Regions from separate parts of the Homo sapiens genome. Here regions 1 and 2 are each linked to region 3. The links are contacts of gene promoters, found by promoter capture Hi-C in human tissues and cell types (Jung and others, 2019). All regions are on one chromosome and are shown on one strand. Each heading gives the region's core, a stretch centred on a gene start or on the middle of the fragment in contact. The rest is flanking DNA. Distances are from core to core; before and after follow the strand shown. Region 1 overlaps PCBP3 (poly(rC) binding protein 3). Region 2 holds the start of FTCD (formimidoyltransferase cyclodeaminase). Region 3 holds the start of COL6A1 (collagen type VI alpha 1 chain).

The links. Contacts are between HindIII fragments. The study calls those that stand out against the background at their distance.
Region 1: a contact is called between a fragment that was not itself captured here and the fragment with the promoter of COL6A1 in region 3, in 4 of the 25 tissues and cell types used here (H1 embryonic stem cells, IMR-90 fibroblasts, dorsolateral prefrontal cortex and 1 more).
Region 2: the fragment with the promoter of FTCD here is called in contact with the fragment with the promoter of COL6A1 in region 3 in 3 of the 25 tissues and cell types used here (IMR-90 fibroblasts, mesenchymal stem cells and mesendoderm cells).

Annotation. Positions count from the first base shown.
Region 1 is chr21:45,841,960-45,845,543 of GRCh38, forward strand. The region is part of intron 4 of PCBP3 (poly(rC) binding protein 3); the gene reads left to right. Among named protein-coding and RNA genes, the nearest start is that of PCBP3-AS1, 7.3 kb to the left of the region's middle. The HindIII fragment of the contact is 8,875 bases long and covers 1-3,584 here.
Region 2 is chr21:46,154,309-46,157,703 of GRCh38, forward strand. FTCD (formimidoyltransferase cyclodeaminase) reads right to left here and starts at 1,271. Exons shown (of 14, transcript NM_206965.2): 1 at 1,162-1,271; 2 at 1-24. The coding sequence starts at 1,215. RefSeq lists enhancers at 1-340, 341-1,044. The HindIII fragment of the contact is 26,017 bases long and covers 1-3,395 here.
Region 3 is chr21:45,979,982-45,983,370 of GRCh38, forward strand. COL6A1 (collagen type VI alpha 1 chain) reads left to right here and starts at 1,789. Exons shown (of 35, transcript NM_001848.3): 1 at 1,789-1,966; 2 at 2,653-2,782. The coding sequence starts at 1,870. It overlaps LOC105372841 (a long non-coding RNA gene), which reads left to right. Exons shown (of 3, transcript XR_937803.3): 3 at 1,309-1,585. RefSeq lists enhancers at 1,547-2,409, 2,410-3,270. The HindIII fragment of the contact is 42,283 bases long and covers 1-3,389 here.

The DNA of each region.
Region 1 (3,584 bases), core at 968-3,467, 140 kb before region 3:
CAATCACTGCCCTTTGTCACCAGTATGTGCTGGGGCTCACCTCCTCTGGATCTCTCTTTCTCTAGCACTTTCAATACAAAAATACCTCGTGTTCCAGGCTAGCTGAATTTGTGTTTTGCTTTGGGCAGTTTTCTTCCAGGCGATTCTCTGTGCAGAAGTGAATCTTCATTGTGTATTTCTGAGATACTTGAGGACTTAGGCCCTTCAGTATGGCTTAAATTTCCAGTGAACTCCTTAATAGTTCTTTTTTGTTGTGTTGTGTTGTGTTTTCTTGTTGCTTTCCTGGAACTTGGAGACTACAAGTACGATTTGGAGTTTCTCCATTTGCTCTCAGGATATTCACCTAGATTCCCACTTGGTGTGAGAAATCATAAATTCAATTGCTTTAATTGTTGTAGGGATATTGAGATTGTCTGTTTCATTTTTTATTTTGTTTGTTTGTTTGTTTGTTCGTTCTCCATATCGCCTACTTATTTGTTCAGGCTTTTTTGGAAACTTGGTTTGAGCCTGTCTATAGAAAGCTCAGTGAAGCTGCTTTAAAATCCTGGTAAGGGAATTCTAGCATCTCTGTTATCTCAGTGTTGGCCTCTGTTGATTTTCTTTTCTCTTTCATGTTGAGGTATGCCTAATGTTTGGCACGACACATAATTTTTGTTTGTGTCCTGGAAGTATAGGTTATTATGTTATGATAGTCTGAATCTTACATCAATCTTCTGTTTCGGCCTCTGTTGACACCATGGGGAAGGGATGTCTTGTTACCAGCAAGCTAGGGTGGAGATCCAGGCTCCTCCCTGGATCCTGGGGACACCACCGGTGGGGAGAAGGGTGCTTGGTACTGCTGGGTGGGAGTGGAAGCCGAGGCTCTCAGCTCAGCCCCTCTGACCGGGCAGGGTGCTGTGTGCGTCCTGTCCTGTGCATGGAGCAGGGCAGGTATTCTCAGATGCTTTCTGACCTAATAGGTTCCTCCTTTCCCATCCCTTTCCCTAGAGAGAATTTTCTTGAGACTGTTTTTTTCCAGTGTGTATCCTTTGGCATTTTTCAGTTGCTTTTCCAGTGCCCTGTCTGAAATATAGAGGAGGAAGCACAAACAAAACGAACAAACAAATAAGAAACCCAAAGAATAGCGAACTCACCGCTGTGTCATTCTCCAAATCCCAAGGGCCCAGCCAGTCCCCCTTCTTCCCTCCAGCTTTCAGGGTTCTCTTCTGTTTGTTCCACATGTAATGTCCAGAGTTGTTGGCTGTGCTCAGCAGGAAGAATAGGGAGAGAGGTGTCTATTCCATCCTGTCCAGAACCAGAAGGCATGGCTTCCTTTACGTGACTACTATCCCCTGTGCCTTCGCAGTTGTTTTTCTTGATTAATCTCATCAGAGGGTTGTATATTATTTAGACTTTAAGAACCAAATTTTATATTTACTGATCTTCTCAGTTGCCTTTGTTTCTTTGCTTAACTTCTGAACTTTTCTTTATTATTACCTTTCCACTTTCTGTGGATACTTTCTGTTCTTTTTCTAACTTTTTAAATGGGATTCGTGACTCACTAATTTTGTGTTTCTTTACTCCTTTTAAAAGCTATAAACTTTACTGTGAGTTCTGTTGCAGCTGTTTGCTACAAATTTTGGCATGCAATAATTTTATTATTGTTGAGGTCTGTTTTCTGATCTCATCTATTTCTTATCTGGAAACATTTAAAAAGTGTTTTGTCCAAGGGAATTGTAAAGTTATCTTTTGCTAATGATATTTAATTGCCTACTGAGTAGGAGATATGTTCTGTGGACTCCATGTTTTCAACATTTGTTGAAACCTGCAATATGAACTAAAACGTTATCAATTTTTGTTTTGTTCTCTGAGAGCCTTAGGAGAATGTGTTACCTCTGCTTGTCAGGTACAGGGTTTTATATACACACAGACACACATACGCACTATCATGTTGTTTGTGCTGTTAATATATTCTGCATCTTTATTACTTTTGTGGGGTATACTTGTGTGAACTGTAAAGGAGAGAGGTATGTTGGCATCTCCCACCAGTTGGGCGATTTGGGGCCTGTGACCTCTGACCTCACTGCTCCTTCTTGTAGCATTCTTCCTCCATTAATGCTCGTCTCTCTCCTTGACCTTCTTTCAGTCTTTCTTCTCAGTGTTTCTACCCAAAATTGCAGGCCCCAGCTCCAGCAGTCTGGTTGCGGACAAGGCCGTGCTTGTTTTTCATTGGGCTGGTCTGTCCAGCTCCAAGGCTGCCCTTTGAGCCGGACGATTGACCCACTGCATTAGGAAATGCTTTGCCGTCTTGGTGAGAGCCCCACTTTAGGGAGGTCTTGCACACTGCTGCATGGAGCATAGACACGTTGGGTGGGAGGTGCCCCAGCACCTAAGGACTCTTATGATTGGGTGGCAGGGGTGGGTGGTGCTGCCCTGCCCTCCAGAGCCCTTCACATGGTCCAGATGTCACCCAGCGCAAGGTGAGGGAGCCCTGGGGTCACATTCTCCACCCTCCCTCCAGCATTGTTGCAGCCGCAGGACACCTGCCAGGGTAGAATTCAGCGTGGCTGGAGGATTTTGTGTGGCAGAAGTAATGGAGATGGTAGGCAGGCTGGTCTCCCCGCTCCTCTGTGAGCACTGTGTGTTGGTGCTCCCTGCCAATGGTGCTCCCCGCGGCATGGTTCCACGCGCACCACAAGGGCAGCGTGGCTTCCTCATCTTAGATGTGACAGAATGGAGATAGTTCTGGGTGTTAGCCCACAAAAGTGGCAACGTTAGGGTCCAAACTCTGGTACATATGAAACCATGGTTCTTCTTTCTTCCTCTCCAGGCAGATTCATAAGAAGAAGACTGGGTCTGAGTTTATATACATATATATAAAGTTATATATAAACTTCATATACGTATATAAAGTTATAACTTTATATACGTATATGAAGTTTATATACGTATATAAAGTTTATATATATGCTTTATTTATATATATAGTTTACATATATATATGCTTTATTTAAGGTTGAACAAAATTTTGCATTCATCAGAAGCTTCCTTTTATGAATTCTTAGACTTTTTTACTGGGTACCCCAGAGATTTAAGGTATCAGCTTGAATATCTTCTAAACTGTTCTCCCTAAAAGGACCATACCTGGATTCTCAAGGAGTCCACCTCCGGAGGGGTCACTGACAGTTCTGCTCTCTTATGCCTTTTGTTCATCTTAACCAGCCTTGGTTAGCAAGGGGCACCTGCCACCAGATGATCTCTTACCAAGTCATGGTTTCCTGTCTGAAGCGGTTTCCCTGATGCTGAGAGGCATGAGGAGAATGTTACAGAGAGACAGCATGCTGCCTTGTGATTGTCTGAGGTTTGAAACCTTCTGGTGAAGCTGAAACCATTTCTTAAGAGCCTGGCTAATGCTGTGAGCTGCTTAAGCACCCGTGTGCACATGTGTGTAAGTGTGTGCCTTTGCCATGTGTATGCATGTGAGCTGCTTAAGCACCTGTGTCCACACGTGTGAGTGTGTGCCTTCACCTGTGTATGTGTGTGTGTGAGCTGCTTAAGCACCCGCGTGTACACGTTTGTGAGTGTGTGCCTTTGCTGTGTGTATG
Region 2 (3,395 bases), core at 21-2,520, 170 kb after region 3:
GGCTCCAGAGATGGCGTCGATCACCTGGGACACAGGCCCGGCCCCCACACCTCAGTCTCCCCGTTTGAAAGAAGGAAAAGGAGCTTGGAGGTGGCTGCACCCCGAGACACAAATGGGGGCTGAGGAGGCGGGCCAAGCCTTTGGGGGCTCTCCGACAAGCTGAGCTCCCACCGAAAGTGCCCGCACACAGCGGCCGCCCGGGAACCCTCACAGCAGCCACAGTCACTCCAGCCCAAGCACAGTCCCCACAAGGGGCTGCAGGTGGTGCCTCCAGGAGAGACTCACGGGCTCTGCTCCGACAGACAGATGCCAGAGACGTGGCCGGGGATCCAAGAAGGTGACCACAGGCGCAGGTCACAGAGGGGCCGGGACCCCCACCCCCGAGCAGGGGAGGGACAGATCACCAGCATGGGGGAGGGGCCTGAAGGGCCTAGAACCTTCCGGGTGGCAGGACTGCTGGGAGCAGGGGCTCAGCCCCAAATCTTGCCCTGTCCCAGGGCCTTGGTGCTGGCTGGAATCCCGGCATGACGAGGCCTCCCTGCACCCCTGCGGGTGACCCCTGTGGCCTGGTGCTGCGCTCTGGGAGGCCTTCCAGGTGGCCCTTAGGGCCTGCGTTTGTTCCCGGAGGAGCCTGGACCTCAGGGCTGTGGAAGGCGAGAGGCCGGACCTGGGGGCCTGCTGCCCCCTCTGTGCCTACTTCGTTTTGGGTCCAGTGAGGATGGTGGCTGCAGGGTGGGGGCTCAGCAAGCTAACTCCAGTGGAGATGGAGAGGCGGCAGTGGGGACCATGCTGGGCCACCTCGTGTGGCCTCACACAGCCCTTTCAGTCAGTGGCAGGAGCCCCATTTTCAGGGGGGAGCACCAAGGCCCTTTGAGGCCCAGAGATCTGCCCAACCCCCCACCGAAAGCACCCGAAAGGCCCCTGAAGCCACAGCCAAGCCTCAGCCCCCACAAGCACCAGTCGTGTTCCACCCACCCCTGGGTCAGGCACTCCCCAGGGCCCTGAGCCACGGGATGTCCTTGGGGCCCACGGGCAGCGGCTCTGCCCATCCTGGGAAGACGACCCGGGACACCAAGCCCACCACCTCCTCCATGGCCTGGGCCTTAGCCACTCAAGCTGCCCCATCAGCCCTAGATGCTTGACCAGCTCCTCGGGCCTCACCTCCTGGTTCTTCCCCTCCGAAAAGTTGGGGACGCATTCCACCAGCTGGGACATGGCCAGCACCTTGATCCAGATGCTCCTCTCTGGGCAGATGGAAGGACAGGGCCAGTGCTCCGCAGCCGCCGCCAGGGCCTTTATACGCTCACCGGCAGCACCTCCCCACCGGCTTCTCATTAACCAGCAAGGCACAAGGAGCAGTGGGGCCAAGGTCCCTGTGCAGCCGCGGAGTGGGGTGCTGCAGAGCCACCCCGGGTGCTGTTGACCCAGAGGGGATGGCTCCACTCAGCCAGAGTGTGGGTTCCCGGAAAAGAAGCACATGCCAGGGTGAAGGGGCATGTGCCGAGGACCCCCAGGAGCATCAGGCCAGCCTGGCTGGAATCCTGTCGTGACGAGGCCTCCCTGTGCCACTGCGGGTGACCCTCGTGACCCTGTGCTGCCTTCTGGGAGGCCTTCCAGGCAGCCCGTGGGGCCTGCGTTTGTTCCTGGAGGAGCCTGGACCCCTGGGGCTGTGGAGGGCGAGAGGCCAGCATGAGGCCCTGGCTCGCAGCACCCAACTGAGGTCAGCTCAGCTCAGACAGGAGAGTGCAGGGGAGCACGCGTGTGAGAGTGAGTGAGGATACACGTGAGGGCAGGGCAGGGGAACACGTGAGAGTGCAGATACACGTGAGCACAAGGCAGGGGAGCACATGTGTGAGAGCGTGGATACATGTGAGCACAGGACAGGGGAACACGTGTGAGAGTGAGCGAGGATACATGTGAGTGTGGGGTAGGGGAGCACACGTGTGAGAGTGCAGGTACACGTGAGCATGGGGCAGGGGAAGCAAGCATGTGAGAGTGAGTGCAGATACATGTGAGCGCAGGGCAGGGGAACACGCGTGTGAGAGTGCAGATACACACGAGACGGGCATGTGCGATATGGGGGAAGGCAGCTGAGACCCCAGCTCTCCCCAGCTGCTGCTCCCCTGACTACAGGCTCCCCACGAAGTCAGCGGCACCAGGGCCGTGCTCAGAAGGGAGAACTCCTGTCTCCACGTTCAGCCGCTGCCCACTTGCAGTGCTTTTATCATTTTCTCTTTTTTTTTTTTTTGAGACAAAGTCTCACTCTGTCAGCCAGGCTGGAGTGCAGCGGCACAATCATGGCTTCCTGCAGCCTTGGTCCCCAGGCTCAAGAGGTCCTTTCACCTTAGCCTCCTGAGCATCTGGGCCACAGGCACACACCACTACACTGGCTAACTTTTCCATTTTTGGTAGACATGGTGATATGGTTTGGCTGTGTCCCCACCTAAATCTCATCTTGAATTGTAGAGCCCATAGTTCCCACGTCATGGGAGGGACCCGGTGGGAGGTCACTGAATCACGGGGGCGGCTTTTTCCGGTGCTGTTTTTGTGATAGTGAATGGTCTCACGAGATCCGATGGTTTTATAAAGGGCAGTTCCCCTGCACACACCCTCTTGTAAGACGTGACTTTGCTCCTCTTTCACCTTCCACCATGATTGTGGAACTGTTGAGTCCATTAAACTGCTTTTTCTTTAAAAATTACCCAGTCTTGCGTATGTCTTTATCAGACAAATACACATGAGGTCTCACCACGTTGCCCAGGCTGGTCTCAAACTCCTGGGCTCAAGCGATCCTCCTGCCTCGGCCTCCCAAAGTGCTGGAATTACAAGTGTGAGCCACTGAGCCCAGCCCCACTTGAAGTTCTTTTTTTTTTTTTTTTTTTTTTTTGAGACAGGGTCTCGCTCTGTCGCCCAGGCTGGAGTGCAGTGGTGCGATCTTGGCTCACTGCAAGCTCTGCCTCCCGGGTTCACGCCATTCTCCTGCCTCAGCCTCCAGAGTAGCTGGGACTACAGGCACCCGCTACCACACCCAGCTAATTTTTTGTATTTTTAGTAGAGATGGGGTTTCACCATGTTGGCCAGGATGGTCTCGATCTCTTGACCTCATGATCCACCCACCTCGGTCTCCCAAAGTGCTGGGATTACAGGCGTGAGCCACCCACTTGAAGTTCTTAATGGAACCCCAACCATGTGGGCCTTAGGGACCCCACCTCCGTGGCTACTCAGGGGGACTGGGATGAGACAGGAGCCAGGTAAGCCCAGAAACCTTCAGAGGCTGGGAGCACACAGAGTTCCCCAGCCAGGGCTCCACGTCTGGAGGCTGGGAGTGGGGGATGGGGTCAGGGATCTGTGTCTGGAGGGAGACCAGGAGGGGAGGATGGGGTCAGAGCTCTGTG
Region 3 (3,389 bases), core at 539-3,038:
GTGAGACCCCCATCTCTACAAAACATACAAAATTAGCTGGGTATGGTGGCACATGCCTGTGATCCCAGCTACTCGGGAGGCTGAGGTGGAGGGATCACCTGAACCCAGGAGACTGAGGCTGCAGTGAGCTGTGATGAGGCCACTACGTTCCAGCCTGGATGACAGAGTGAGCCCCTTAGATAATAATAATAATAATAAGGAGGAGGAGGAGGAGGAGGAGGAGGAAAAGAAGGAGAAGTACTTTACAACTTCTGTAACGTAGGTGTGGGGAAAATATTGAAGGCAATCCAAAAACAGTCACTGTGGAGTTGTGGAATTAAGTATCAATTTTAAAGGTTTTTTCAAATGTTTCTTTAACATGGTTTTTGGTATGAACAATTTGTGTACGTTTTAAAATTATAAGACATTTAGGCTGGTGTTAGGCAAGTCTCAGCAGCTCCAGCTTTGGGAAAGCTCTTCTGGGACCTTCTGTGGGCCAGGGATGCATCTGGCCACATCTGGAGCCCACCCCCAGGTGATATCAGGGACAGCCCCTCTCTCCTCTCTCTGTCTCTCTTTCTGTCTCTCTGTCTCTGTCTCTCTGTCTCTGTCTCTCCGTCTCTGTCTGTCTCTCCTCTCTGTCTCTCTCTGTCTCTGTCTCTCTGTCTCTGTCTTTGTCTCTCTCTGTCTCTCCTCTCTCTGTGTCTCTGTCTCTGTCTCTCTCTCTGTCTCTCTCTGTCTGTCTCTCTGTCTCTCTCTGTCTCTGTCTCTCTCTGTCTGTCTCTGTCTCTCCTCTGTCTCTCTGTGTCTGTCTCTCTGTCTCTGTCTTTCTGTCTCTCTCTCACTGTCTCTGTCTCTCTCTGTCTCTCTGTCTCTGTGTCTCTCTGTCTCTGTCTCTCACTGTCTCTCTCTCTGTCTCTGTCTCTCTGTCTCTCTGTCTCTCTGTGTCTCTCTGTCTCTGTCTCTCTGTCTCTGTCTCTCCTCTGTCTCTCTGTGTCTCTCTCTGTCTTTCTGTCTCTCTGTCTCTCTCTGTCTCTGTCTCTCTCTCTGTCTCTGTCTCTCCTCTGTCTGTGTCTCTGTCTGTCTCTCTGTCTCTGTCTCTCTGTCTCTCTCTCACTGTCTCTCTCTGTCTCTCTGTCTCTGTCTCTCTGTCTCCACACACAGCATATATAACAACTATATTGTGAGCAACTTTGTCTTCCCACGGTACAAACTGAAATATCTTTGGCAAATACGTATCCGACTATACTGTGAAGAAATATTGACGTGAAAAAAGAACGCGGAGATCTGATAAAGCAACAATTCAGCTCACGGCGAGGTCCTCTGCAGGAGGCGGTTGGTGGGAAGAGGCGAGTGAGCCTGCCCGTGCGTCCCGCATGGAGACGTCTGGATTGGAAACTACCGAAAGATGTTTCAAGGAACTCTCCCTGGGTGACACGCTGGTTTTCAGACGTTTGATTCAGCTGCTGCAGTTTCCTCCTCCCTGACACGGGAACTGAACTGCAGGCCGCGGCGAGCCAGCCAGGGAAACCGCCTTCTCCCTGGGCTCGGAGCTGCTGCCGGTTCTGGAGGGAGAGACCCCAGCAAGGAGGTGGTGACTCATGGGCCGCTCCTCCCCGCCCCGCCCCGCCCCTCCCCTCCCGCCCCGCCCCTCCCCTCCCGCCCCTCCCCTCTCCTCCCGCCCCTCCCCTCCCCTCCCCTCTCCTCCCGCCCCGCCCCTCCCCTCCCCTCCCGCCCCTCCCCTCCCCTCCCGCCCCTCTCGCCCCGCCCCTCCCCTCCTTGCCCTCCGCTCTCACTCTGGCTGGGAGCAGAAGGCAGCCTCGGTCTCTGGGCGGCGGCGGCGGCCCACTCTGCCCTGGCCGCGCTGTGTGGTGACCGCAGGCCCCAGACATGAGGGCGGCCCGTGCTCTGCTGCCCCTGCTGCTGCAGGCCTGCTGGACAGCCGCGCAGGATGAGCCGGAGACCCCGAGGGCCGTGGCCTTCCAGGGTGAGTGGTGGCTTGGGGTGCAGGCTCCAGACCCCCCGCTCTTTGCTGCCGGCCAGGGCCAGATGCGCGGGGTCCCCTCCCACGCGTGGAACTGCAGACTGGGGGCCTGGAGCCCCTGAACCCCACTCCCCGCTCGGGGCGGCTGCAGCGCCCAGCTCTGCCCCACCGGGCCTTGGCCGGGGCCCCTAGAGGCTCAGCATTCAGCATTCTCAGCGGGGCCGGACCGCAGGCAGCTCGGGAGGGGCTCCCTGGCGAGGGGGAGCTGGTGCGGGGCTGTCTCGGCGCCCCGTGAATCCGTTTGACCCCTCACCTGGCAGTGAGTCCAGACGCACGGCCCCCCCGACCCCCGTTCTAGAAGAAGTCGTGCGCTGCTGGTTCTGAATCCAGCGAGAAACCTTCCCGTGAGGTCTCACTTGTCCGGTCCCGTGCCGGGGACGCCCTGCCCTTCGGGGGAGGTTGTGAAGGTTTCTGACTCCCCTCGAGGCACAGGAGCGGTTTGGGGTCTCTCACTCCACCCCCTCCCCACCGTCCCCACCGAGGGACGTCCTGCTGCCTTTTCCCGGGAGAGCCTCTCCGGGCCCGGGGCTCTGTGCTGCAGGCGCTGGGCTGGCCGGGAGGGCAGGCCCAGCAGAGACTCGGGGAATGGGGCGAGAGCTTGAAGGCCCCTCTCCTCCATCTTCGGCCAGACTGCCCCGTGGACCTGTTCTTTGTGCTGGACACCTCTGAGAGCGTGGCCCTGAGGCTGAAGCCCTACGGGGCCCTCGTGGACAAAGTCAAGTCCTTCACCAAGCGCTTCATCGACAACCTGAGGGACAGGTAGGAGGGACGCCCCGTGACCTTCCTCCTGTGCTTCTGGGCCTCTTGGAGGGAGGGGTGGGGGCCCAGGGGAACACGGGTGCGACGGCCTCAACCTCCTAAGGTTGGGCGAGCGTTGCCCTGACCGGGGCCCCTCCCGGCGCCCTCCAGAGTGAGGCCGGGGCCCTTTCCGGCGCCCTCCAGAGTGAGCTGGTCTGAGCCTCTCCCAGCGCCTTCCAGAGTGAGCTGGTTTGAGACCCTGCTCGCGGGGGTGGCACCTGTTCAGCAGGGCCGAGGTGACAGTGAGGCTGAGATGTAGGGAAGAGAGGCTCCCGCAGGCTGACCGAGAGGGCTCAGCGCACTGGCCCAGACACGCAGTCCTGCCTGGTGCGCGGGAGCCCCTCACTAACCACCTGGACCCTGGTTTGTTCCGTGGGCAGTGAGAGCCTCTACCTGGGTCCTGGATCCCACGTTCTGAAGGTCCCCGACTCGGGAGCCAGGAGGGGTGTCGCTCTGCAGCCCCAGGGCCCCCAGGCTTGGTTCTGGGCTTGGGACACGGCACCCTCTGCTCCACGTTCCTCCATCTGTGCGTGTGGCTGAGGACAGACCGGGGGGAGAGGGGAGTCGG